2 separate regions of the Homo sapiens genome follow, and region 1 is linked to region 2. The links are contacts of gene promoters, found by promoter capture Hi-C in human tissues and cell types (Jung and others, 2019). All regions are on one chromosome and are shown on one strand. The core of a region is centred on a gene start or on the middle of the fragment in contact, and the rest is flanking DNA. Distances in the headings are between cores, read along the strand shown.

Evidence for each region. Contacts are between HindIII fragments. The study calls those that stand out against the background at their distance.
Region 1: a contact is called between a fragment that was not itself captured here and the fragment with the promoter of PKP2 in region 2, in 2 of the 25 tissues and cell types used here (bladder and thymus).

Annotation. Positions count from the first base shown.
Region 1 is chr12:33,197,695-33,201,297 of GRCh38, forward strand. No RefSeq gene overlaps it. Among named protein-coding and RNA genes, the nearest start is that of SYT10, 240 kb to the right of the region's middle. The HindIII fragment of the contact is 4,237 bases long and covers 1-3,603 here.
Region 2 is chr12:32,895,045-32,898,264 of GRCh38, forward strand. PKP2 (plakophilin 2) reads right to left here and starts at 1,733. Exons shown (of 13, transcript NM_001005242.3): 1 at 1,465-1,733. The coding sequence starts at 1,687. RefSeq lists silencers at 1,732-1,841, 2,042-2,141. The HindIII fragment of the contact is 8,511 bases long and covers 1-3,220 here.

The DNA of each region.
Region 1 (3,603 bases), core at 364-2,863, 300 kb after region 2:
GCTTTTTCTTGCTTTCCATTTGCTTAGTAAATATTTTTCCTTCCCTTTATTTTGAACCTATATGCATGTCTTTGCATGTAAGATGGGTCCTGAATACAGCACACCAGTAGGTCTTGACTCTTTATCTAATTTGCCAGTCTGTGTCTTTTAATTGGGGCATTTACCCCATTTACATTTAAGGTTAATATTGTTATATGTGAATTTGATCCTTTTATTATGATGCTAGCTGGTTATTTTGCCCATTAGTTGATGTAGTTTCTTTGTAGTGTTGATGGTCTTTACAATTTGGTATGTTTTTGCAGTGGCTGGTACCTGTTTTTCTTTCTGTATTTAGTGCTTCCTTCAGGAGCTCTTGTAAGGCAGGCCTGGTGGTGACAAAATCTCTAACATTTGCTTGTCTGTAAAGGATTTTATTTCTCCTTTGCATATGAAGCTTACTTTGTCTGGATATGGAATTCTGGGTTGAAAATTCTTTTTAAAAATAATGTTGAATATTGCCCCCCACTCTTTTCTGCCTTGTAGGGTTTCTGCAGAGAGATCTGCTGTTAGTCTGATGATCTTCTCTTTATGGAAAACCTGACCTTTCTCTCTGGCTGCCCTTAACACATTTTCCTTCATTTCACCCTTGATGAATCTGATGATTATGTGTCTTGGGGTTGCTCTTCTCGAGGATTATCTTTGTGGTGTTCTCTGAATTTCCTGAATTTGAATGTTGGCCTGTCTTGCTAGTTTGGGGAAGTTCTCCTGGATAATATCCTGAAGCGTGTTTTCCAACTTGGTTCCATTCTTCTCGTCACTTTCAAGTACACCAATCAAACGTAGGTTTGGTCTTTTCACATAGTCCCATATTTCTTGGAGGCTTTGTTTATTCCTTTTCATTCATTTTTCTCTAATCTTGTCTTCAAGCTTAATTTCCTTAAGTTGATCTTCAATCTCTGATATCCTTTCTTCTGCTTGATCGATTTGGCTATTGATACTTGTGCATGCTTCACGAAGTTCTTGTGCTGTTCTTTTCAGCTCCGTCAGGTCGTTTATGTTCTTCTCTAAACTGGTTATTTTAGTTAGCAATTCCTGTAACCTTTTATCAAGGTAATTAGCTTCCTTGCATTGGGTTAGAATACGCTCCTTTAGCTCAGAGGAGTTTGTTATTACCCACCTTCTTAAGCCTCCTTCTGTCAATTCGTCAAACTCATTCTCCATACAGTTTTGTTCCCTTTCTGGTGAGGAGTTGCAATCCTTTGAATGAGAAGAGGTGTTCTGGTTTTTGAAATTTTCAGCCTTTTTGCACTTGTTTTCCTCATCTTTGTGGATTTATCTATCTTTGGTCTTTGATGTTTGTGACCTTCGAATGTGGTTTATGTGTGGATCTCCTTTTTGTTGATGTTGATGCTGAGAGGTGAAGCCATCTGGACTTCCTGGGTGGAGTGGGGACTTGGAGAACTTTTCTGTCTAGCTAAAAGTTTGTAAATGCACCAATCAGCACTCTGTAAAAACGCACCAATCAGCACTCTGTGTCTAGCTAAAGGTTTGTAAACGCACCAATCAGCACTCTGTAAAAACGCACCAATCAGCACTCTGTGTCTAGCTAAAGGTTTGTAAATGCACCAATCAGCACTCTGTAAAAATGGACCAATCAGCACTCTGTAAAATGGACCAATCAGCAGGACATGGACAGGGCCAAATAAGGGGATAAAAGCTGGCCACCTGAGCCAGCAGCGGCAACCTTCTTGGGTCCCCTTCCACGCTGTGGGAGCTTTGTTCTTTCACTCTTCACAATAAATCTTTCTGTTGCTCACTCTTTGGGTCCTCACTACCTTTATGAGCTGTAACACTCACCGCAAAGGTCTGCAGCTTCACTCCTGAAGCCAGGGAGACCACGAACCCACCAGGAGGAATGAACAACTCCGGACGTGCCGCTTTTATAAGCTGTAACAACGAGCTGTAACACTCACTGCGAAGGTCTGTAGCTTCACTCCTGAAGCCAGCAAGACCACAAACCCACCAGGAGGAACGAACAACTCCGGACGCACCATCTTTATGAACTGTAACACTTACCGCGAAGGTCTGCAGCTCCACTCCTGAAGCCAGCGAGGCCATGAACCCACTGGGAGGAATGAACAACTCCAGATGCGCCACCTTTAAGAGCTGTAACACTCACTGCAAAGGTCTGCACTTTCACTCCTGAAGTCAGCAAGACCACGAATCCACCAGAAGGAAGAAACTCCAGACACATCTGAACATCTGAAGGAACAAACTCTGGACACATCATCTTTAAGAACTGTAACAGTCACTGCAAGCGTCCGCGGCTTCATTCTTGGAGTCAGCGAGACCAAGAACCCACCAGAAGGAACCAATTCCGGACACAATGCTATTCATTTCTGTTTATTACATTTCCTTCTTACAGTCAGGCCCCTCTGCTGCAGGTCTGCTGGAGTTTGCTGGAGGTTCACTCCAGTCCCTGTTTGCCTGGGTGTATCACCAGTGGAGGCTGCAGAACAGCAAAGATTGCTGCCTGTTCCTTCCTCTGGAAGCTTCATCCCAAAGGGGCACCTGCCAGATGCCAGCCGGAGCTCTCCTGTATGCGGTGTCTGTCAACCCCTACTGGGAGGTGTCTCCCAGTCAGGAGGCAGGGGGGTCAGGGAACCACTTGATGAGGCAGTCTGTCCCTTAGCAGAGCTCAATTGCTGTGCTTTGGAGACCCATTGCTGTCTTCAGAGCTGCCAGGCAGGAACAGGTAAGTCTACTGAAGCTGTGCCCACAGCCGCCCCTTCCCCCAGGTGCTCTGTCCCAGGGAGATGGGAGTTTTATCTATAAACCCCTGACTGGGGCTGCTGCCTTTCTTTCAGAGATGCCCTGCCCAGAGAGGAGGAACCTAGAGGGGCAGTCTGGCTACGGTGGCTTTGTGGAGCTGTGGTGGAGCTGTGGTGGGCTCCGCCAAGTTCAAACTTCCTGGCTGCTTTGTTTACACTGTGAGGGGAAAACCACCTACTCAAGCCTCAGTAATGGTGAATGTCCCTCTCTCCCCACCAAGCTCGAGTGTCCCAGGTCGACTTCAGATTGCTGTGCTGGCAACAAGAATTTCAAGCCAGTGGATCTTAGCTTGCTGTGCTCTGTGGGGGTAGGATCTGCTGAGCTAGACCACTTGGTTTTCTGGCTTCATCCCCCTTTCCAGGGGAGTAAACGGTTGTTTCTCGCTGTCATTCCAGGTGCCACTGGAGTATAAAAAAACTCCTGTAGCTAGCTCGGTTTCTGCCCAAATGGTCTGCCAGTTTTGTACTTGAAACCCAGGGCCCTGGTGGCATAGGCACCCAAGGGAATCTCCTGGTCTGCCCACAGCTGGTTGGATTGTGCCCCGTGCTTGTTGAAGGTGGATCTTCCTCACTCAGTCCATTGACTGACAGGTCAGTCTCCCCTGGAAACACCCTTGCAGATACATTCAGAAATAATGCTGCACCAGTTTTCTGCTATTAACCCCGTCAAGTTGACACCTAAAATTAACCATCACATCTTGATTAAGAAAGTGAATAGGCAAGCCACAAAGTTGAGGGCTTTTTAGAAAATATAATACATACATTTGACATATGATTTCATTCAGAATATACA
Region 2 (3,220 bases), core at 483-2,982:
AAACTGATAAGTTTAAAATTCAGGTTTGGGAGTTTAAATACCAGCTCTGCCACTTACCATCTATTAGAGCTTCAGTGTTACTTAACTGCTTAGTTTCCTCATCTGTAAAATGAGGATGAAAATACCTAACTCACAAGTTTTTAAATACATATATATATATATATCTCAAATGAATGCAAACCACATCGCCCAATTCTTGGCACATAGTATGCACTCAGTTATATTAACTACGATCATTGAACATCTTCTCTTTACCTTTCAAGTATGTTAATATTGACTACGTCATCCTTTAGGATTCTTTTACACACACAGTACAGCCTCCCAGACTCTGCTGTTTGAAATCTCTGGTCTGGCCTGTTAGAATTTTTCTGTTTTCCTAATAGAAACTAGAATGGGTTAGCCTACATTCGCCAATGCCCAAGTTACTTCATACAGAAACAACTGAACGTTGCAGGAAACAGATATTCCAACTTAATTGCTCAATTTCTTTCCTCTTCTTTTTGCTATAAGCCAACATAGTGCTTTTATAATGCAAACTCACATACACAGCAACAAGAAGTAAAACAAGGGTCACTGAGTTGATCCCATCACCTGACTTCAGCAGGGGAGAAAAGGATACATCATGATCTCTAATTTTCACAAGTGGCTTGCCATCTTCTTTCCCTTCCACCTCCCCCGTCTATCAATCATGAACATAGTGTGCATGTGTGTGCTTACACCCCTTTCACCTTCGGGTTTAATTTTTTGGAGGGATCAGACTTGCATCACGCCCGCACTGGTGGGGGTAGGAAGCGCAGCTAGGCGGGCACGGCTGTTGCCGGCAGGGCCAAAGTCCCCTACCTCCTCCTCGGCGTGTTTGTTCCCTGGACCAAAGCCTCCTAACTACTTTTCTTCACTCCCTAGATCCACCACTCGCCTCCCACACAGGGTGGAGCGCCCCGAAGTACTTGCATAAGACAGCACAATCCCAATTTATAGGTTGTAGGAGCGCCAGTGCTGTCGGTTTTTTTCCCCAAGATATTTATGGGGGTCATTAATTATTTAACAAATCTAATAAAATTGAAGGGCTCCTTCTCCCAGAAAAAGATCGTACACACCAAAAATTCTGCATAGCATCTCAAGGTGTTTATAGACTCCCTGAACCTTCAAATTAAGTCCGCACCAGTGAGGGGCGCGGACCGGCGGAGTAGAAAAAGAAAGGGGTGAAATCTTGAAGTGAGTTAGTTAACATTGATAGATATGTACAATATTTAATATACATAGGTACCTATATGACAAAGCTGAGTAATAGGTTATGGAAAAGAGTGCTTTCCACAAGCAAGTCGGTCATACCGAAGACGGCGAGCAACAGGTGGGCAGAACACGGGGTCCCGCACTCCCAGCACGCGGGGTGAGGGCGGGATAGGAGGAGGTGACCGGGTGTGGGGCAGGGGGCGGCGCCGGGGAGCGGCGGGCTCCACTCACCGTTGCCCACGGAGCTGCGGCCCTTCCGGGCGAGGGTCTGCTGCACCTGCTCCTGGATCCGCAGGCTCTTGACTGTCTGGCCGCCGCGGCCGCTGCTCCCCGCCAGCTTCAGCTTGGCCTCGGAGGGCAGCGCCAGGCTGGAGCTGTCCAGTTGTCCCAGGATCTGCTGGCCCAGGACGGTCCGGATGTAGCCGTACTCAGCTGGGGCGCCGGGGGCTGCCATGGGGCCGGTGGGGGCGACCGAGCTGCTCGCCTGCCTCTGGACTCGCGGGCGAAGCCGCCACGGAGCTGGGGGCGCTGGCGCGAGCCCCGCCCCGCTCGAGTCCGGCCCCGCCCCTGGCCCGCCCCCCGCGCCGGTGAGAGGCCCGGGCCGGGGGGGAGCTCGGCCTCGTGGGCCGGACGCCCGGCCTTCCCTGAGGAGGGGGCGCGGCTCCGGCCGGGCACGCGCAGTCGGGCCCGGGGGCGGGGGCGGGGGCGGGCCGGACCCGCTGAGCGCGCGGACACCTGGAGACTTGTACCCGCCCGCGGGGAGGTGGGGAGAGGGGCGCGGTTCGCCTGGGGTCGCGCACGTTGTCGGAGTCCCAGCGGATACCGCCTGCCGGGGCCGCGCCCCGCTCTGCCCACGCCCCGCGCTGGACAGGATGGATTTCCGCTCGATGCAGGGAGGGGCTGCCCTGCAGGCAGGTGAGCCCTCGAGAGTCACTCCTGTTCTTGGACTGAGGCTTGCCTCCGGGATCCCCGAGCGAGTAGTATGTCTGGTTAGTCAGGCTTTGTCGCACTGTTGGAAACGTTTCCTGGTTTTCCTGGACCTGAGGGTGAGAAAGGGCTATTTGGTCAGGCGGAAAGGGCAATATGAGGGAAATGTGCCAAGAAGATAACGTGTGAAATAAAAGACTTTCTAAAGAGAGTGTTTTTTTTCTTAGTACAACGTCAGGACTATGTACTTTTTGCACAGATGCAGTCCCAGAAACATATGTTCTTCCTCATTGAGAGCTTCTGTTTTCTCTTGGATACACAAATTGTACCCAGTACTCTTGCTAACCCATTCCTCTCTTACGAACACACCCACACAGAGAAACTCCAACAAGAGGCTCTAGAGAAGAAATGAATTTTAATAGACGATGCTTTTTAAATAGCCCTGCTAACGTTGATTAAGTCCTCTTTATTACAGGCTCTTTGTAGAGAGATCCACGGAGAGGGCCTCCAACTTTCAATCGAATCTTCCACAACTTGTATTTATCGTGCTATTAATTATGTTTCACCGCAGTTGACTACTGAGAACTTGAGAGCTAAGCTCAACAGAAAGGATCCTTGACCTTAAAGTTTACAACCAAAGCCACTTGTCCTGATTTGCCTCTTTGGACTTAAGAGGCAGAAAGAAAAACATGTATCCCTGGTATTAAGATAATATTCCCTTTGATTGCTTGGGTTTGTATGTTCACTTTCCCTCAAATCACTCAATTGCTGCAAAACCCCACTTACTCAAGTCTGAAGTGTTTGGAGAACGCAGCTTCCCTCGTCTTTGTTTTCCTACCCACACCCTTCTGCCTTTAGACACACACTGAATGCTTAGACACACAATGCACAGGTATATGGCCTCCCTTTTTACATGAGCGTCCAGGGAGTGAAGAGGAAACCAAAGGACTGAAAGCGTGGACAACAGAGTAGTGACAGTTCCGCCACCCTTTGTCAGCAGGCCACATGGCTAAGTGGGAGCCATATGGATGTGAGTCCTGGAAGCAATTGCTCCCACCCC